Linked DNA regions of Homo sapiens: region 1 is linked to region 2. Evidence: promoter capture Hi-C in human tissues and cell types (Jung and others, 2019). All regions are on one chromosome and are shown on one strand. Each heading gives the region's core, a stretch centred on a gene start or on the middle of the fragment in contact. The rest is flanking DNA. Distances are from core to core; before and after follow the strand shown.

Region 1 (5,135 bases), core at 631-3,130, 370 kb before region 2:
GCCACCAACTAAATGACAAACGAAGATCAAAGAACATGTCAGCAGGTCAGGTCAACAGTGCAGTGTTCAAGCAACAGAAATGAGCATCTGCCCTGGGATGTTTTGACAGCCGGGGGGGATCTCAAAGTTGGTGGGAGGCAGTATTTGTTGGCAGGACCAGGACGTTTTCACCCTGTTGGCTGATCCTGAGCCGGAAAGCACTGACATCACCCTCATGGGTGGATGACATCACCCTCATGGGTGGATGACATCACCCTCATGGGTGGATGACATCACCCTCATGGGTGGATGACATCATCATTGCATGTGTATGACATCATTGTCATCACCACGGGTGGGTGACATTATCCTTATGGGTGGATGATGTCATCATTGTAGGTGGATGATATCATCATCACCATGGGTGGCTGACATCATCCTAATTTTCTTATCTCTGTCCTCTCCTACCTACTACCCACAAGTGGTTTGGAGTAAGACTTCGGGTCTTCACTTGTTTCCTCGCTGGAATCTAACCTTCTGTTTTCTCTCTGCTTTCACCCGGTTATGACCCGAGATCAACAACAGGGACATCCCTTCCAACAGTGCTTCTGTCCACAAAGCTATTCTCAAAGTTGAGATAACCTCCATATTGCTGAATCCACTGGTCACATCACGGGCCTCATCTCATGGGATCGCCCAGCCGCTGGCACTCTTTCCTTCTGGGCACACAGTGTCCTCCTGGCTTCCAGGACACTAGACATTCCTGGTCACCATTATTAGTCTCTTTTGATAATCTCAAGATGTCCATGATGGGGAGCCACAGACCTTGTTCCTTCTCAATTTACCCTCAGTTGAATGAGGTGTGATGTCATCCAACGTTATAGCTGCCTTGACCAGCCAGCCCATTTGTCATCTCCGCTGAATGAGGTAATGAGATGTCCAGTGTTGTGGCTACAAGTACCATCTCTGTGTGGGTGGCTCCCACGTTTATGTCTCCAACCCCAGCCTCTCTCGTGACTTCCAGCCTTCTGTATCCACCCGCCTACTCAGCTCCTCTCTTTGGATGTCCAGGTGACATCTCACACCCAACAAGGCTAAAGCACAGCAGCCCATCCTCCCCTGTGGCCTCTGCCCCACCTGCCCTCTTGGCCAATGGCAATTCTACCTGTCTACTCACCTGACCCTAAAACATTGGGACTGACTCCCCTCTTCCAATCACGCTCCATTTCCAACCTACTAGGAGTCTCCATGGCACTATATTCAAGTCCAGAAGCTCACCACCACCTTCACTGCTGCCACTCTGGTTCCAGCCACCACCTCCCAGCTGTCATCTCTTGCCTGGACTGTGCCAACAGGCTCCCAACTGATTTTCCTGCTCTTTCCTCCAGCCCCAGCTCCGTTCAATCTACGCACCTCACAGCGTGGAGAAGGGTCCTTTACAACTAGAAATCTAATCGCAGCACACCTCTGTCTGACACCCTGCAGGGGCTGCCATCTTGCTCAAACCAAACTCCAAGTCCCTCTGTGGTCCATGGGGCCCTTCCTCGTCACCTCTCATCTCTTCTCCTACGACCTTCCCCTTTGCCCATTCCCCCGCCCCACTGGCCTCCTTGCTGCTCCTGGACTGCACCAGGCTCTCGGGCGCCACCTGGCCTTTTCTTTACCCGCATGCCGTGCTGCAAAGCTGTTCCCTCCATCTCTGCTCAGCGGCACTCTGACCTCCCACAAGTCTCTGCTCACATCTAAAATTGCACCTGCCCCTTCTACCGGCTCTATTGATCTTCTTAACCTGCCCTTCCTGCTCTTCCTTCCGCGGAACCTGTTGCACCTTCTACCATATCATACACTTGACTCCCTCGTGAATGCTAGCTGATCATCCTCCCCGCCCTCCTGCCTGGAGGTAGGCTCTAGGAGGGCAGGACAGACAGCTCTCTGACTGTCTGGATCACTAATTTATCCCAAGCACATACATGTAGTAGGTGCTCAGTAAGTATTTGGTGAACGAAAGAATGAATGTTAGTGAGTGGGAAGATTTCCAAGGAAGAGCCGCATCTCTGGTTTCCCTGCCTTGCCACGTGCAGATTGGGCAGCTCTGGGGCTGTGCTTGTAGGAATTCGGTTCCATCCTCTGCTCATCTGAACTTTCCGGGTTTTAGCCATAGAACCCACATCCCAGAGCCCACAAGTGTGAATTCTCCCCAGTGTGCCTGCCTTGACCAGCCAGTGCATTTATCTAGATTCGGCAAAGACTTTTTCCCCCCCCCCAGTTTCAAATTGTCATTTCTTCTTGGGATCACAGGAACGCTTTCAAGAAGATACTCATTGAAGCTATTGTCAAAGTTGCTTCTGCTTTCCCTCATGTCTTAAATATACCCTGGACACACTTAAGAAGTAAAGCTTTAGGCGAACTGTGATATAAACATCGACCTCCATAAATCCGTGCTGAGGGAACCTTGGCAGGCCCTCCCCCCGCTCCCAAGGAGCCTTTGACGCGGTCCCCACTCCTGGCACCCACCGCTTTGCTGAAGTTGACGTGGATGAGGTTGCTAGCGGCGTCCCGCAGAATCAGCGGCTGCCCCAGGTTAAAGTGGCAGTCCTGGTCCACGCCCGCCACCCACTGCTGGTAGATCTTCTCGCGGTGGCACCTCAGCAGCTCCATCATCTCGTCATACTTCTGATAGGTCAGCTTGGCCTCTGCTCCAGACATGACCCTGGAATCAGAGCGGGAAGGCGAGGCCCCACTGGATATCTCCTGTGGGGTGTCTTCGGCACGTCCCATCGTTGCTGCCCGATCTGGGGTGCCGAAGCGGCCGGCCACCCAATTACTCGAGGCTCACAGACTGAATATGCAAACAAGCAGTGGCCAGACCAAATGTTCAAATGGAACTCCGACCTGCAGTCTGCAGCCACCAGCCCAGGAGGCCAAAATAGAACCCACGCAGCAACTGGCTCCCGACCGCCAGGCCTGGATGAATGACAGCCAGCCCCTCTCCAACTTTCCTTCTCCCTTCCAACCTGGGGCCAACTAGATGAAAGCAAATACGCCCCCCAAACAACCACATAAAAGGCCCCCCTCCTAGTCAGCTGCACCGGCCTCCCCAGGCCAAGCCGGGGCTCCCCTGCAGCCGTCCCTGCGTCCACCGTGAAGCCTCCCCGGCCCCTGGCTGTCCAGGAGACTTGGCCAAGTGCACGCAACAGTGGCTCAGTCAGCTGCATACACAGCCTCTTCCTGTTCCTGCCTGGGTGGTCTTCATGTCTACCAGGCTGGTGGGCAAGGGTGGGGACCAGCCAGATTTCTCCTGAGCACTCCCACCAAGAAGGTGATCAGGGGAGGAGGGAGGACCAGAAGGGGTCTCTTCTGGGCTTTTGCTCTGGGAGGTAACAGTCTGGTCGACAGGAGGGGTGGTCCCGCTCGGGGTTGGGACAGTCCCTCTCGCTCTCCCGCACCATGGAGGCGGGGTGCCTGCCCCTGCCCAGGGCTGTGACTCACGGGTGTTCGACGTGCTTCAGGTGTTTCATGGACACCTCTAGCCTCTCCTGCAGCTCCAGGCTCCATTTGAGCTGCCCGGCCACGGGAGGCATGTTTTTGTGGATCAGGGGGATGTTCCCCTCCTCGGAGGCCGCCATCTGGGCATCGTACAAGATCTTAGCATTGTCTAGCTCAGCGTCAAACAGCTCCAGCATGACTGAATACCTGGGCGCCACCTCGGCAAGAATCAGGGGCCGCTCCATGAGGCCCCCACACATGTACAGGAGCTGAGGACAAAGGAGAAGGGGGCCTCTTCACCACAGTCTCCTCCCCTTCCCCAGCCTGTGGCTGTGGACAAAACGGGCAGGGCCAATCTTCAGGAGTGAGAGAATGTGTACCTTGCCAAAACAAAACAATCCACTGGAACCTTTGTGTGTGTCAACTGGCTCAGTGGAAGCCTCTATGCTTTTCTCATTGACTTAGGCCGAGTCCCCAAATACTTGGCTTATAATCCCACAGTACAAATAAGTCCAAGGGCTACAAGAGTTTTTTCTAAGCCTAGGAAAAATCAGAATTCTGGTAAGGAAGACTTAAACAATTAAAAAATAGGCTGAGCACCATGGCTCACACCTGTTATTCCAACACTTTGAGGGGCCGAGGCGGGAGGGTCACTTGAGCCCAGGAGTTTGAGACCAGCCTGGGCAACACAGCAAAATCCTGTTTCTACAAAAAATAAAAATAAAAAATACAAAGAATACATGAAACTAGCGGGGTCCAGTTTTTGTATTCTTTTGGGTGTGCGCTTATAGTTCCAGCTACTCAGGAGGCTGAGATGGGAGGATTACTTGAGCCCCAGAGGTCAAGGCTGCAGTGAGCCAAGATTGCACCACTGCACCCCAGCCTGGGCAACAGAGCAAGACCCTGTCTCCAGAAAAAACAAACCCAAAACAACTCCAAGTAAACAATTTTAAAATAGCCATAACGTTGCATTTATATACCTGGGCTTCTACTCTGATACAGATAAATGAAGAAATATTTTATCCACAGGAAGCGTTCCTCTTAGGAAGAGCACTGCCACTCTCAAGGGCAGCTGAGGCAAGAAAACCACCATCAGGAAATGTGTTTCGCTCTGAGAAAGCTCTGGGGGTCAGACCAAGTGGGAGGGGGACCAGAGAGAGGGAAGACAACCTCACACGAAACAGGGTCCCCCAGTGCTGGGTGTGAGTGGGAAATCCAAGAGAGTTTCCCGGGGCTGCCATAACCCACGCCCAATGGGGGCCAGACCAGCTGCGGTGAGCCTGAGTCTCAGACTTTCCCCAGACTTGGGTCTGAGAAAGGTGACCACTGTCCCTAGAAATGGCCACAGGAGGAAAAACCAAAACATGACTGCGAAGAGAGGGAGATTTTTCAGGCCCCCAAGAGTACAGATTTCCCAAATGCAAGATTGCGGCTATTTTTAAGTTAATTGTGTTTTTCAAAATTGTTCAAATCTTCCTTACCCAAATTCTGATTTCTCCTGGGCTTAGAAAAAAATTGTCACCCTTGGACCTATTTGTATTGTGAGTTGTACAAATGGAGCAGCCGTGGACTCTCAGGCAGACATGGAAACGCTGGTGTCCTGCCAGCTACCGCCTTCCTCCACGGTCGCCTGCTGACGTATGAGGTCACCAGTTTCATTTGTTCAAAGC
Region 2 (5,135 bases), core at 1,399-3,898:
AACCCAGGAGGCGGAGGCTGCAGCGAGCCGAGATTGCGCCATTGCACTCCAGCCTGCTCTCCAAAAAAAAAGAACAGGGAAATTTGGACACAGAGACACACGAGAGAAGGCCATGTGAAGACAGGCGGAAATGGAAGTGATGTGTTCCTTGAAAATGGAACCAAGCAACATCAAGGAGAGAGGCCTGGAAGAGATTCTCCCTCACAGCCCCCAGAAGGAACTGGCTCTGTGGACACCTTTTCAGACTTCTGGCCTCCTGAGCTACAGAGAATCGATTCCTGTTCTTTTAAGCCCTCCCATTTGTGGTAGTTTGTCACAGCGGCCACAGGAAGCGAATGCCCTGAGCTCTGCAGTGCAACTCTGGCATCTGACTGGGCCTCTGAGCCGGGATGGGGTGAAAAGTTTTAGCTACAGGATGATTTTGATGCAAAGATTTAGACACAAATGCCAGGCAACCCAGAAGAGGAGAGTGCTGCGCTGAGCATGAAGGAGGCGGGAGGCACGCACTGCAGCCCTCCACCCTCTGCCATCCTGGATCCACACCCCACGCAGAAACAGCTCCCAGCTCAGTGGCCGCCTTAACTTATGCCAAGCAAGGACAGAGTGGCTGCCTGGACATTCTCCCACACAGCTGAGGAGTGTGTGTGTGGGGCGGGGTGGGGGGGGGGGCGGGAGGGGGAGGGGTCCCAAGGCCCAACTCCTACAAATCCAACTCCCAGGTCCTTTTATCCACAGCCTCCTTCTGGGCCTTGGCTACATCCTGCCCCAGCACGTGCTGGTGAGCCAAGGAGCCTGGACAGGCCTGCACTCCTCGTGGACCCCCAGAGAAAGGCCCATTATGGCTCCCTCATCAAAGGAACCTCTCCTTCACCCACAAATCTTGCTGAGCACCAAGGCTAAACTGGAGAAAAGACCTCATTTCCCCCAAACTGGGTTTTGTGGAAACTGACACAGGCACACACCAAGCCTTCCGCCCAGGTGGCCTGAGCCACCTGAGACCTGTGATCTCAATAGATTGGTGCAACTGAAAACTTCCCCAGCTGGGCACGCAGCTCCTAGGGCTAACCGGGGTGGGGCAAGAAGCCGTGGGCGGGGTATGGGAAGGGCGTGGCTGACAGCAGGAGAAACAGAAAGTCCCACCTCCACTCTGGGCAGGTGAGGGGGCCCCCGCCTTGCTCCATCTGCCCTGGACAGGTCACTCGACTGAGACTCAGACATAAGAAGGAAGGAGGGCAGGGGGCTCCGAGACCACCTGCCGTGTAGCCAGACTTGCCCCAGGAAAACCATGCTGACCAGCACCAGGGCTGCAGAGGCTTGAGGTGCAGGACCAGGGTGGAAACTTCGAGCCAGCGGGTTCCTCCCATTTCTGCTGGTCCTCCCCCTCCATGGATCAGAACAAATAACTGGGCCCCTCCTGCCTCCCTCCATGGCGCCTGTCTTTTGGGGGCTAGGAGTCCGGAGGTCATGGGTATTTGCTGGGGAATCTGAGCAGCAGCACAGTCCCACGTGCCGGGTCCGGTCACCAAAGTCTCCAGCTTTTGTGGACGTCCCGAAAAAGCGGAACATTCGGGGGTCCCGGTCCCTGCCCAGCCAGTTTGCAGGGCCTCCTGGGCAGGGCGCAAGCAAGGAGCCACGCCAGGAGACGCCACCGGCTTTTTCACCTGCCCCTCTGGGCCTGTGGAACCTGCCTCGGGTAGGGCGGGCTTCCATCCCACCCTGGCTTGATCGGGGAGCCCCCAAATGGGGCTGGTGGGAGAAGCCCCAGCAGAGAAGCCCTTCCCCACCCAGCCCCAAGCCCAGAGAAGCCCAACTCCCACCTTATCTGCGAAAGTTTCTTCCTGGGGTCCCCAGTCCTCCAGCCCCCCGCCCCCACGCCGTGTCCCCCACGCTCCCCGCCCCCAGCGCTGGCATCCCAGGGCGCGCCGCCTGCCAAAAGCCAAACTGGCTCCCTTTCCTGGGGCTGGAGCTGCGGCGGAATTTCGGTGGAATTTTGAGGTTGAGACGCATCTCGGCAAAGAGAGGGAAAGAAAGGGAGAGGAGGGAGGGGGGAAAGAAAGTCGGCTCTGGGCGTCCACTTGCAGGATTCGAGAAGGCGCCGAGGGACCAGGAGGCGGGCGCTGGGGTCCCTCGGCCAGCGGCGGGCGGGCGGGGCGTCTGCGAACCCTCGGGGTCGCGGGGGAGGTGGGGCCCCGCGCGGGGGCTGGGGTCGCCGCTCCTTACCTACATCTGCATTGCAAAACGCCTGTTGCGGGTGCACCGGGGAGCAGCTGCAGGCGTCGGCCGGGCGAAGCAGCGTCGCCAGCAGCAGGAGGCCGAGCGCCAGCCGCAGGGTGCGGGCCGCGGCGCCCATGGCGGGCCGGGGGGCTGGGCGGGCGGGGGCCGCCGCTGGGGGGTCCGGGCGCTGCTCGCGGCGGCGGGCTGGGGGCGCGGGCGGGGGCTGAGCCGGGGCCGAGGCGGGCCCCTCCCGCGCGGCTCACCCTCCTCACCTGCCCCGCTCGGCCGCGCAAACTTTCTCTCCTCTTTGTCTCGGGGGCGCGAGGGGAGGGGCGCGGGGCGCAATTCGCCGGGCGGGGCGGCGGGGTGGGGGGCGGCGGGCGAGCGGCGCTGCGGTTCTCGGCGGCCGCGCTGCCTTCTACGGATGTGTTTGCTGCGGGCTTGGGCCGGGCCGCAGTTTTATTGCGCTCGGAGGATTTTCTGCTCCTCCTCCCGGTGGCTGGCGGCCAATGCAGGCTCTGGGCGCTCCCAGCAGCCCCCTCCTCCCCCTCCGCCCGCGCCTCCCCCCAGCCCGCGCTTTTGTTGTGCCCGGCCTGGCACGTCGGGGGCTTCCCGCACCACCTGGCGCCCGCGACCCGCACCCGCGCGGGGGTCCCCGGACGCCCCCAGCCCCCCGACCCCGGTCCCCGCTGCGTGGCCTTCTGCGCCCGGGGTCCCTGACTCAGCGCGGGGGACTCGCGCCCCGTTCTTCCAGGACACCAGGCGACCCACCCGCTACCCTTTCCCCTTCAGCTCGACTCTGGAGGGCTACGCTGCTCCGTCCCCCGCCACCCCGGGGTCCCTTCGAGCCCAGCCTCGGGGCGAGCCAAGGGGTGTCCTTTGGAGCAGGGGCCGTTCCCTGTCGCCACCTCCCCGTTTCTGTGGGCGGGTGGCCTATTGAGAAACTGACAGGATCCCTTTTTCAAATGGAGGCCTTAGAATTTTAAGTGCGCCTGGCCAGTTTAGTTGGGGGGTGGGGGGTGTGGTTACTGTGAACAAAACAGGATTTTATATAAACTGGCCATATTTTTGACCAGCCAACAAGAGACGGGGGTGGGCCCAGGCGCCCAGGAGCCAGTAGGATCGCAGCAGAGGCATTGGCTGGGTTCCGCTCACAGTTTCCTCTCTTAGTCCACAAATGTGGGAGCCGAAGGACTTTTCCCAAAACAGTTTTGTGTTCCAGGAAAGACCCAGGCATATGAAGGGATGAACATGTGTAGGGTGGTGAGGCGGGCTTCCTGGCTGTGAACCTGCCTGTGCCCGGCTGTGGGCACCCACCCTGTACATTTGGTGTGTGCCCCGTGGGGCTCCATGGACACTGCTGCACTCAGGTCAGCACTCCAGCCCTCAGGTCAGCATTCCAGAGTGTTTGCAGTCCAGCTAGGGAGAGGGAAGCCCAGGAAAATGACACAGGAAGAATCAGGGCGGGCACGGTGGCTTGCGCCTGTAATCCCAGCACTTTGGGAGGCCGAGACAGGAGGATCACTTGAGGCCAGGAGTTTGAGACCAGCCTGGCTAGCATTTAGTAGAGACAGTGAAACCCCGTCTCTACTAAAAATACAAAAAATTAGCCGGGCTTGGTGGTGGGCGCCTGTAGTCCCAGCTACTCGGGAGGCTGAGGCAGGAGAATGGCATGAACCCAGGAGGCGGAGCTTGCAGTGAGCCGAGATCATGCCACTGCACTCCAGCCTGGGGGACAGAGCGAGACTCCATCTCAAAAGAAAAAAAAAAAAAAAAAAAGCCCGGGTGCAGTGGCTCATGCCTGTAATCCCAGCACTTTGGGAGGCTGAGGTGGGCGAATCACGAGGTCAGGAGTTCGAGACCAGCCTGGCGGCTAACACGGTGAAACCCCGTCTCTATTAAAAACACAAGAAATTAGCCGGGCGTGGTGGCGCGCGCCTGTAGTCCCAGCTACTCAGGAGGCTGAGGCAGGAGAATCGCTTGAACCCGAGAGGCGGAGGTTGCAGTGAGCCGAGATTGCGCCACTGCACTCCAGCCTGGGCGACAGAGAAAGACTCTTGTTTTTTTTTGTTTTTTTTTTTTTTTTTTTTAAAAAGAATTGCCCACTAAATTGTGCGGTGCTGACTTGAGGTATGAAACTTTGGAAAATAGTGAAAGAATGGAAAAACAGCTTCTTTCTGTTTGTGTATGTTTTGTAACAGACAGTTCTGAGAAAAGTTAAATAAGCAATGCCGTTATTTTTAGCACCCTGACAAATCCAAAGTCACTTTTTTGGTTTTTGTTAGCGTGAAATAGAGTTGGGTCGTTCACAAAATGATGTTTGAAGCTAACGTTTAAAAGTACAGTTAATTCAGAAAATTGTTATGTGCTGGCTGCCTTCAGCCATTTCATCGTTTTCTTTCCTTCTTTTTGGTTACAGGGGGAACAAAATGCTGTTGAACTTGTGTTTCAATTTGTCAGTTCATGATAGAAACAGGTAGCATAGGGGCTCTCGGTCTTTTAGACAAGCTCTACATATAAGTGATCAGGTACATGTTAGGGTGATAAATACCTTAGAGCAGTTGTGGTGCTGACAGCCAAGGGGGTGGGGCCAATGTGGGATGTACCTGGGAGGAAAGGGGGGCCTGGGCTCCAGGGTTGGGGGGCGTGAGACTGGAACTTCCAACCCAAGGCCTCGCACCTGTATCCTGGACTGCCCTCCCCGAAGTCATCCCCACCAGCACACAAACAGGCTGGAATTGCTCCCAGGAAAAGTGAAGCAGAAATCTTGCCAGGTGCAGTGGCTCACGCTTGTAATCCCAACACTTTGGGAAACTAAGGTGGGAGGATCACTTGAGGCCAGGAGTTTGAGACCAGCCTGAGGAACATACTGAGACCCCATCTCTACAAAAAAAAAATTAGCTGGGCGTGATGGCTCACAC

The links. The method cuts DNA at HindIII sites, captures the fragments that hold promoters and counts their contacts. A contact is called where the count stands out against the background at its distance.
Region 1: a contact is called between a fragment that was not itself captured here and the fragment with the promoter of TIMP2 in region 2, in 1 of the 25 tissues and cell types used here (lymphoblastoid cells).

The regions. Positions count from the first base shown.
Region 1 is chr17:78,558,247-78,563,381 of GRCh38, forward strand. DNAH17 (dynein axonemal heavy chain 17) reads right to left here. Exons shown (of 81, transcript NM_173628.4): 12 at 3,469-3,734; 13 at 2,494-2,689; 14 at 1-8. Among named protein-coding and RNA genes, the nearest start is that of DNAH17, 17 kb to the right of the region's middle. RefSeq lists an enhancer at 1-880. The HindIII fragment of the contact is 7,931 bases long and covers 1-5,135 here.
Region 2 is chr17:78,922,739-78,927,873 of GRCh38, forward strand. TIMP2 (TIMP metallopeptidase inhibitor 2) reads right to left here and starts at 2,649. Exons shown (of 5, transcript NM_003255.5): 1 at 2,221-2,649. The coding sequence starts at 2,350. RefSeq lists an enhancer at 809-878. The HindIII fragment of the contact is 25,377 bases long and covers 1-5,135 here.